Linked DNA regions of Homo sapiens: all the other regions are linked to region 3. The links are contacts of gene promoters, found by promoter capture Hi-C in blood cells and fetal thymus (Javierre and others, 2016). All regions are on one chromosome and are shown on one strand. Each heading gives the region's core, a stretch centred on a gene start or on the middle of the fragment in contact. The rest is flanking DNA. Distances are from core to core; before and after follow the strand shown.

Region 1 (3,056 bases), core at 417-2,916, 200 kb after region 3:
TATACAGAAAAGCTTCAAAATAAATAATGCTTCTCTTTGTTCTTTCCAGTACCCCTAATTTCATCAATCATTCAACCCTCAGATTTATAAGTTATCGACCAAGAATTTCTCCTTCCTTTTAGAAACAAATATTTTATCACTTTATTCAAATTTTACCAGCACAAAAGCACCCAGAGATGGCTTGTCTAACCTTCTATCATTCAGAAAAAAACACAGAACCAATGCACACAGGAAGAATAGTACCTGGACAGTGTGATATATAAGACGATACAGACGAATGACAATCTGTTGAAAAATATCTCCTAGGTTTTATTATGCCTAAAATTCTCATCCTTAGTCCTAGTGATGGAGAGCTTTGGAAAAGTCTCCACTGATCACCCAACTGTCAAATCCAAAGGTCTTTTGTTAAACCGGAGAGAACAAAATATTAACAGTGGTTATTTCCACGTAGGGAAAGTATAAGCAATTTTCTTCTGTTTTTATAGATTTCTTATTAGGAAAAACACGAATACATCTTTTTAAGACCTTTTTTTGGATCTGATTCTTCTCATTTCTTGCCAATGATCAACATGTTGATCATTCCGCCTCCTAACCTATCCACTAATTTGCCTCTCATACTGTTTTTTTCTTTGTCTCCTTTACCCATTCCTCTCCTTTCACCCACCCGCTAATTATGGGCAATCCCACTCTTTTCTCTTAAGTACCACAGCACCAGCCTTAACTTCGCTAACAAATTCTAGTCATATGTCCCACTGTATGCTATCAATTTTCACTTGCCCATCCCACGGCCACCGCAAACTCAACATATCCACAATATACGCTCAACTGTCTACATCCCCTCTACCAGCTACTAACACTGCCATAACTATTTTTGTTAGTAACTGCCATTAATCAAACGGCAGTTTCTTTGTCATTAACTAGCTGAGTAACTTTGGACACATTTTTAAATCTCTCTGGTCTGAGTCCTAATATACAAAACATATAGACTTAGATGTTCTAAGATGTCTTGGAGAGTCAACACTCTTTGATTTCCTCCGTCACTGAAAAGCAAACCTTCAAGGTAAGGTAATCTTTAATCACTCTTCTCCCCTCCATTCTCCCTTCTTATCCAATCCATAATAATGTCTTGTGACATCTCTGCAATCTGACTTATTTCTAAGTCCTCATTACTTCAGGGCTCAATTATTTTCCTACCTCTTTCTACCATTCTCTTTCCAATTCATATGAGACCTAGCACTGGTGCTGCTTTGATTTTCCTAAAATACTTATTTCAGCAAACTCTTTCTCAATTCAAAACTTTTAAAGCTTCTCCATATCTACAGGTCAAAGTACATTCTTCTCATCCTAGCATTTAAAGACATCCATAATCAAATTCCAACTACATTTTTAACACAATTTCTTACTACTCTTTCACACAAATCTTCATTTCAGTCAAGTTATTTATGTACTGCTCTCTGAACATATCATACATATATACATATTTTGCCTTTGCTTACCCCCTCTACCAGTTCCTTCCTATTATGCAAAATCTCTGCTCAACTCAAGTGGTCTTAAATATCTGTAACTTTTATTATTTAGCTTATCTGCCCAATTATACTGTAAGTCCTTAGGGAAAGGAGCCTATTTTATATTTCTTTATTTCTCTTTTGAATACAGCCAAGTACCTTTTACATTGCAAGTATTAACAAATATTTGTTTGGTGACTACAGTTCCTTATCACACAATCAACATGTATTTCTTGAATGCTGCCCATGTGCTCTCCACTGTGTGTTGTGGTTTTTTTTTAATCTAAGGTACTGCTCCTCAAAGAATACACAATCAACTTGAAAAGATATGGCTAACACTAGGGAAATAACTATCAAACAACTAAAGCATGGCATATAATTAAACCATGTGAAAATGTTCTAAGACTAAAGAGCTACAGAAATAGAGGAAAAAAAAGAGGGATGGAGAACATGGGCAAAAATTAAAGGATAGAAGAAGCATAGCTTATTATTAGAAAGTGTGGAAATCAGCTTACAAGCTTAAGGACTAGAGATCCTTAGACAAAAGACTAAATAAATAGGGCAGGGATTGATAATAGACTATCTTAAAAGTCAGGAAAATTTAATAAGTAGAAAATGGTAAGCCACTGAAGGTTTTGGGGCAAGGGAATGCTATAATAAGGAGTATTAGAGTGGAATCTCTATTGAGGATAAACAGAAGGAAGGGACACTGAATTCTCAGAAGTTCAAATGACTTTCAATATTCTAGGCTCAGGAAATGTGTCCTGGGATTCACACAGTAAAGGAGGGAAAGCAGAGATATGAGAAAGAAAGGAAATATGGACATTTTGAATGGGAATAAGAGGTAAATGAAAGAAGTAGTTTAAAGATGATGCCTAATTTAAAGCCTACATGATTAGAAGAAAATTAAGGGGTAGAAAATGGTAACTTTCACTTGGGGCATTCGGAGTTTAAGGAGATGAACAGAAGTAGAAGCAGAAGACCAGTACAGGAAAAACCAGGAAGTGACTAGTACAACAAGTTAGCAATAGGATTAGTTTTAAAATGAAAGAACTGGGCAGAAGTTATAAACATATTACATAGGAGAGGAAATATATTAAGCCATGATCAGCTGGTACTAGCTTTATATCAATAATTTTATCAGAAAAGCAAACTAAAAGCTAAGGCAGAGGTTTCCAAACCCATTCAGGGAGCTCTGAGTCTTAGCAAATTTTTCACGACACCCCCAGGCCAAAAGAAATAGGTTTGAACAACTTACTTAGTAGTTATGTCCTTACAACTTAGTGTAGAGCACTGTAGAACTTATCAAACCTTAGAATCAAATTGGACAATACCACACTGTCATTTCCTGTTCTACATTCATTTTCATGTAGTAGTTGCTTTTTATCGGAGCAACCTCTGAAAATACATCTTTACAAAGACATGACATTGTAGAAACGGGTGTAGGTATCTAATATTGAAACCATGAACCAACTCAAAACACAAGTTCAAGCCTGAGGTGCTCTGGGCACCTTGGCACACAGTTTGGGAAACTGGGAGCTAAGAGGAGGG
Region 2 (3,083 bases), core at 420-2,919, 190 kb before region 3:
ACTGGTAGACATTTAATTGGTCCCCAGTTTCGTTCAATTACAAATACTGTTTATATTGAATAGTCTTGTATGCATTTCTTTGATCAAATACATAAATATTTTAGTAGGTAACTTCCCGGACATGAAATTATTGGGGAGAAAAGCATGAAGATTTTCTATCACACAGATACTGTCAAATTGTCCTTAAAACTACTGTACTCTTCTGCTTTCCCAAAAATAGTGCATGAGTGCACTCTCACCAACAAAGGATAGTATCAATTTTTATCTATATGAGACTCAAAAATGAGATGTTTGTTGTTTAAATTTTATTTTTCTACTACAAATGAAGTTCAACATTTTTCATAATGTATTTTTTATTTGTATTTATTCTTCAGTGAAATGCCCTTTTTCTATTGGGTTAACTTTATTGGCTTGTAGATTTTCTTTACTATTATTTGTTAAATCATATATATAAATATGATAGGCTGAAAGTATCAGTTTATATTTATGTATTTGTGTACACACACACACACACATATCCACTCACATGTGGCTGTTGAACACTGGAAATGTGACTAGTGCCTCTGAGAAACTAAATTGTTAATTTTAATTAATCTTAATGTAAATATTCAGTATGGCTAGTGGCTACCATGTTGAACAGCACATCTCTGTAGTAACTTTATATGTCTGGCAGGTAAGACAATTTTCAAAGTTTTCTTTTTTTGTATATTTTCCTCTCCAAGGAAATCTTACAATGAGCTTGTAAAGTTCACTAAAGTAATTTCTGATCAGATTTTGATTAGTATTTCTTCCTGGGTATTATATTTACAATATTGTGAATAACTATTAATGGATTTTGGCATATAGAAAATCTGTAATGTTTGTGTGTTGATTATATATTCAACCATTCTGCTGATTCTGATTAGAATCTTGTTGATTCTAATAGTTTGTTCAGTTTATTTTCTTGAGTTTTAAAGCTAGGCAATCATTATCTAGTTGTATTTATTTATACTTTTACTGTACTATGGTTAAAAAAATATGGCCTATGTGATTTCAACTTTCATGAATTTATTGGGATGTTTTATTGTGGCATAATACAATGTTCCCTAAATATTTATAAAGAATTTAAAAATATTTATTGGCTATACAGATACACACATATTAAGCTTGTTGATTTAATTGCTTAATCCTTAATATCACTACATTTTTCCAATTTAACCTGTATATTTCTGAAAGAGATGGTTAAATCCTACCATTATTATTTATAATTTGTAATTTTTTTTTGTATTCCCAACAGTTTTGCTTCATGTCATTTAATGTTTTGTCTGATTTATAAAAAATTCTTAACTCTTCTATCTTCTTCATTAATTATATATGCCTTTTATCAATGTTAAAGTGTACAACTCAATTAATTTACACAGACTGAACATATTCCTTAAGCTGCATCCCAACCCCTTGCAGTCACTAACCCCACTTAAGGATAGCCACTATCCTGACTTCCAAGAGCATGGGCTAGTTTTTTGTCTAATTTTGATCTTTTTACTTCTGGTTTATCCTTTTCTGTGTCTGGGTTCTTTTGTTCAACATTAGGATTATGAGATTCATTCATATTGTGTGCGGTGTTATCACAGTTTCTGTTGGACTCCCTCAGCAGGAGCTAAAACTGCAAGCCAGATAGAGAAAACATGCTGGCACATGAGGGGCATGTGTCTCCCTTCAGAGATACATCTGGGAATAGGGAAGGAAGGTTCTCATCGCTTGGGCTGCATTCTTTTCTTCTGTTCTGCATTACCTTTATTATCTCCCGTTCCAGATGTTCTCTTTATGCACCTTTATCCTTATCTATTACGCTGTTGGTTTCCCTCAAATGTCTGGTAGCCCTTGGTTGCCTGTTCAAATGTATGATGAAGAACCAGGTTGACTATCTTGAGGAGCTGGCATGGATTTTCTGTGCAGTCTGTGGGCCTTTTGGAATGTGCAACATGTGCCAACACAAGAGCTTCCCTTTAGGGTGGATGAGCAAGAAGCAGGCTGAAGAACCCCACAATTGCCAGAGAACAAAGGTTTACTCTGGGACGAAGCATGGTGTCATACTTCAGGTCTCAGTGGTACTGCCTTCTATTTTTTCTTTCTTTCTTGTCTGCTGTCGAAGTGCAGAATTGCCTCGATATCAGCTCTTCTCTTTCAGACCCCATCCCCTAGAATAAAAGCTTCCCCCAAGAGATTTGCCACTTTGGAGAAAATTTGGCTGGGGACAAACACTGCCACCTCTGTGTGTATTGGAATGGAGGGGCACCATTTGTTGTTACGTGGGTAGGTATTAAATTATTTCCAAGCTTGGAGCTTCTCCGGCATTCTTATAGGCAGAATAGTCCTCCCTAGAGTCTGCTTTAGGTTGTAGTTTCTTCTACAGAAACTCCTACAGGTTTTACCATCATTTTGATCCCATCTGCTTTCTCTCTTTCAGAAATTTCTCAACATTTCTGAAAATGTTCTTGCTTTCCAGCACCATTATGGAGATATTCTTTTAAAAAATATTGTTAGCTTATTTTTATATAGATAAATACAAAGGAGAAAAAAATGAATAGTCTCTTATGTCACTACCCAGTAATCCCTGCTTACATTTTTCCTTTTTAATGTATTTTTTAGTATAATGAGTGAACTAATAAATAAAAGATTATATAATACATTTATATGGAAAGAAGAAAAGATTACCATAGTACTATTATTTCAAAACAGCCTTGTTTAATATTTCAGTTTTTTTCTCTGTGCTATCTTTTTTTTTTTAGTTTACTTGTTATCCTCTCTAAAAGAATTTTATATTATGCTTTTTGCACTTGACAGTGTGTCTAAGCACTTTCCAGCACTGTGGCTAGCCTTCACAATGTAGGAAAGTCATTGTAACGGTTGCAGGATATTTTGTTGTATTTCATTACCTCCTTATCCACTGCCCTGCAATTGGACAGGGAAACAGATCTCTAACTTCCCAGGCAGCCTGAGTACAGATTCATTCTGAAATGAAGGCTTAAGGGATTTTATTTCTTTATAAAAATTATAAATTTTTGAATAGTTAATATGTGTACATGAATCAAAATTCTAAAAGA
Region 3 (3,007 bases), core at 37-2,536:
ACTCATGGCCCACTATAGTTTGGACATAAGTTATTTTTTAAGGAAGGTGATTAAATTTTACTAATCTATATTATATCAACCATTTAAAAAATCCAATTGGCAGTTAATTTAACAGCATTCATGGATGCCACTGGGAAGCAGGGAAAAGATAGGGAAACGGAAAATTAAGAAAAAGACATAGAGTCAGAAGACAGAAAAGAAAGGGAGAAAAAAATAAAATTGTATAGGGAAATGGTGAGATCACTGATAAGCTTGCACCTGTGGCTTCAGCATCCTGAACCTTATTCCTGAGACAGCCACCGAATGCCCTCTTGTGGCCGATAGTACATCCTTCCACGCCAACACACTAGTAACACAGAACTTCATTTAAAATGATAAAGCTACCTATGCCGATTGCGCTTCGCTTCCCTGCCCCTTCCCTCCTAACTGAGCAAAATTATCTCACCTAAATGAGCATTTCATGCTGCATGCTGTTATTCTTACAAGGCAAATCCTCTAGGGGTCCCTGTCACAAGTTAATTTGGTAATACACAATCCTCTACATTATCTAACCGAAAGAACCAGATTTCCATCCCAGGTACCTCAAGACAGCGTCCCTACTTCTTTTTTCTGGAGATTGAGGCTAAGGCCCATGCCTCCCTGTGAACCAGTAGGATTTTTCTGAAGAAGCTTTGAACCTGACTAAACGCACATGGCCATATGCAACACTTAAACGTTTCACCACATATTTGATTGCCAGCTAAATGCCAGATCCCGGGGTACGATGGAAAGCAAGAACAGACGCAGGCCCTTGCCTTCATGAAGCGGGGGTCTCAGGAAAGAGGTTACACGCCCACAAATGGAAACAGGTCGATTAACACCGTGAAAGAGATGACAGGGGGTTTCTGTGAGGGAGACGAAGCTTTATTAACAACCTGGCAAACAAGAACGAGAAACGCATTCCAGGTGGAGGGAGCAACACTTTTTAACCTACGTTATCAGGTAACAGGGATCCTATGTTCTCACGCTTGGTGAGGAATCTCCCATTGAGGAAGGAAAGAAAAATGAATCAAACTAGGGGGTGGCGGGGTAGTGAGGGGATTTTTGGCTTTCATTTTAGGAGCCAGGGCCTGCTACCTTCGACCACCTGAGACCCCTGAGCTGGCGGGAAAGCCTTGACGCAGCCGGCGCGCGCCTTCCCTTGAAGTTCTGGCGACGCCCCCACGCGCTCGGAATTCCGCAGTGTTTGTGCGCGCCGCTCGGCCTGGCGCAGGCGCAGACAGGGAGCAGGGTCCGGCCGACCGCCATTGCACAACGCGGAGGACTAGCCTGGGGTCACAGGGATGCCGCGGCTCCTCCGCTTGTCCCTGCTGTGGCTTGGACTCCTGCTGGTTCGGTTTTCTCGTGAACTGAGCGACATCAGCAGTGCCAGGAAGCTGTGCGGCAGGTACTTGGTGAAAGAAATAGAAAAACTCTGCGGCCATGCCAACTGGAGCCAGTTCCGTTTCGAGGAGGAAACCCCTTTCTCACGGTTGATTGCACAGGCCTCGGAGAAGGTCGAAGCCTACAGCCCATACCAGTTCGAAAGCCCGCAAACCGCTTCCCCGGCCCGGGGAAGAGGCACAAACCCAGGTAAAAATCGAAACCGAAGGCATGTTTGTTCACCTCTGTATATTTCTTATTCCTGCATTTGCTCTGCCAGAAGGTGAGCTTCCCCAGGAAGTGGAATTTGTGCCTAGTACACAGCTCTTTAAAAAATTGTAAAAAACAGTGTATTGAAAATATACAAAACTTCAATGAAGCGCTTTTTTTTTTAACTTGGAGGAAATAAATGTACACTTGTAAGTCTACATATTTATGTAAGAATGTTGTTCTTTTCTGGAGTGCCAGTCATCTGGCAAACTCCTTTTTGTCCTTCAAAGCCCAACTTAAGTATCATTTTCCCTGTGAAGTCATCATTGACCTTTTCATGGCCAATGGCTCCATTGTCCTTTCTACCACAGTATCTAGCACATAGTTGTATTTGACTGTCGTCATTGGCTACAGAATCAGCCCAACCTTGTAGAAGATAAAAATGCAGAGTACCTTGTTCAAAAAAGCAGGAAAGGGCCATGAAAATAAAGGTAGTAAAATATAAAACTGTTTTCCTTACTTGTCCATATCCCCTGGTCACGTACCAGGAGATAGGCCTGGTCCGTTCTCCTATCAGGCTTCATTTAAGAGTTTACGTACTTGTATTTCATTCACTTAAAGTTTCAAAGGTAAATTTATTCAGAACAACAAAGGAACATTTAAACCAAATGCAAGGCCTGTGTGACTACATAGGTTTCAGTCCCATAAAGTCAGCCCTATATACCATACTGTATTATAGGGACTATTTCATGCATATTTTTGTCTGAAATGCTTAGCAGATGGCCTAGCACATCGCATGTGTTTAATATGCGCTGAATTTATACTTGATGCTTTCAAGCAGTCTGCAGGAAGGATATTCTTGTTCCAGATTCATTGGTATATCTTACTATGTTTTTACATTTTGTGACTAAGACATTTTAGTCCCAGTATGATTTGTCATTTTAAAAGAAATTGCACTTTGTTTATAGTGTATCCATAGGAAGAAGATTACTGCCTTTTACAGTAATTCAGTTGATTTGATTTGGACAAATCTTGTAAAAGTGAAGATTTCTGAAATTAAGGAAATGAGTAAACTATCATGCCAAAAAGAGACCCTAATGTAGAGGACTGAAAAAAGTCAAACAATGCACATTGTAGGCACTCATTAGCTTTTTTGGAATGAATGAATAGAATTTATAAAGTCACTGTTGCTGAAAGAATAAAAACTTTTAAAGACAGAAACCATGAGACTGATTCATGATCATTTTCAAACCGACCCATCAAACTAACCCACATACAAACCTCACCTTGTCCTTCTGTTATAATGAAGGAAGTGTCTCTCCCCAGTCTTCTACTTTTACTTTAGTTCAGTGACTCTCACGCTTTAATGTGCATATGAATCATTTGGGAATCCTGT

What was found. The method cuts DNA at HindIII sites, captures the fragments that hold promoters and counts their contacts. A CHiCAGO score of 5 or more calls a contact.
Region 1: a contact is called between a fragment that was not itself captured here and the fragment with the promoter of INSL6 in region 3, in 1 of 17 cell types (endothelial precursors). The highest score is 5.0, in endothelial precursors.
Region 2: a fragment that was not itself captured here is called in contact with the fragment with the promoter of INSL6 in region 3 in 1 of 17 cell types (non-activated CD4 T cells); the score reaches 5.2 in non-activated CD4 T cells.

Annotation. Positions count from the first base shown.
Region 1 is chr9:4,988,179-4,991,234 of GRCh38, reverse strand. The region is part of intron 2 of JAK2 (Janus kinase 2); the gene reads right to left. Among named protein-coding and RNA genes, the nearest start is that of JAK2, 4.4 kb to the right of the region's middle. The HindIII fragment of the contact is 718 bases long and covers 1,308-2,025 here.
Region 2 is chr9:5,376,933-5,380,015 of GRCh38, reverse strand. The region is part of intron 3 of PLGRKT (plasminogen receptor with a C-terminal lysine); the gene reads left to right. Among named protein-coding and RNA genes, the nearest start is that of RLN1, 39 kb to the right of the region's middle. The HindIII fragment of the contact is 1,044 bases long and covers 1,148-2,191 here.
Region 3 is chr9:5,183,918-5,186,924 of GRCh38, reverse strand. INSL6 (insulin like 6) reads left to right here and starts at 1,286. Exons shown (of 2, transcript NM_007179.3): 1 at 1,286-1,611. The coding sequence starts at 1,323. The HindIII fragment of the contact is 2,408 bases long and covers 904-3,007 here.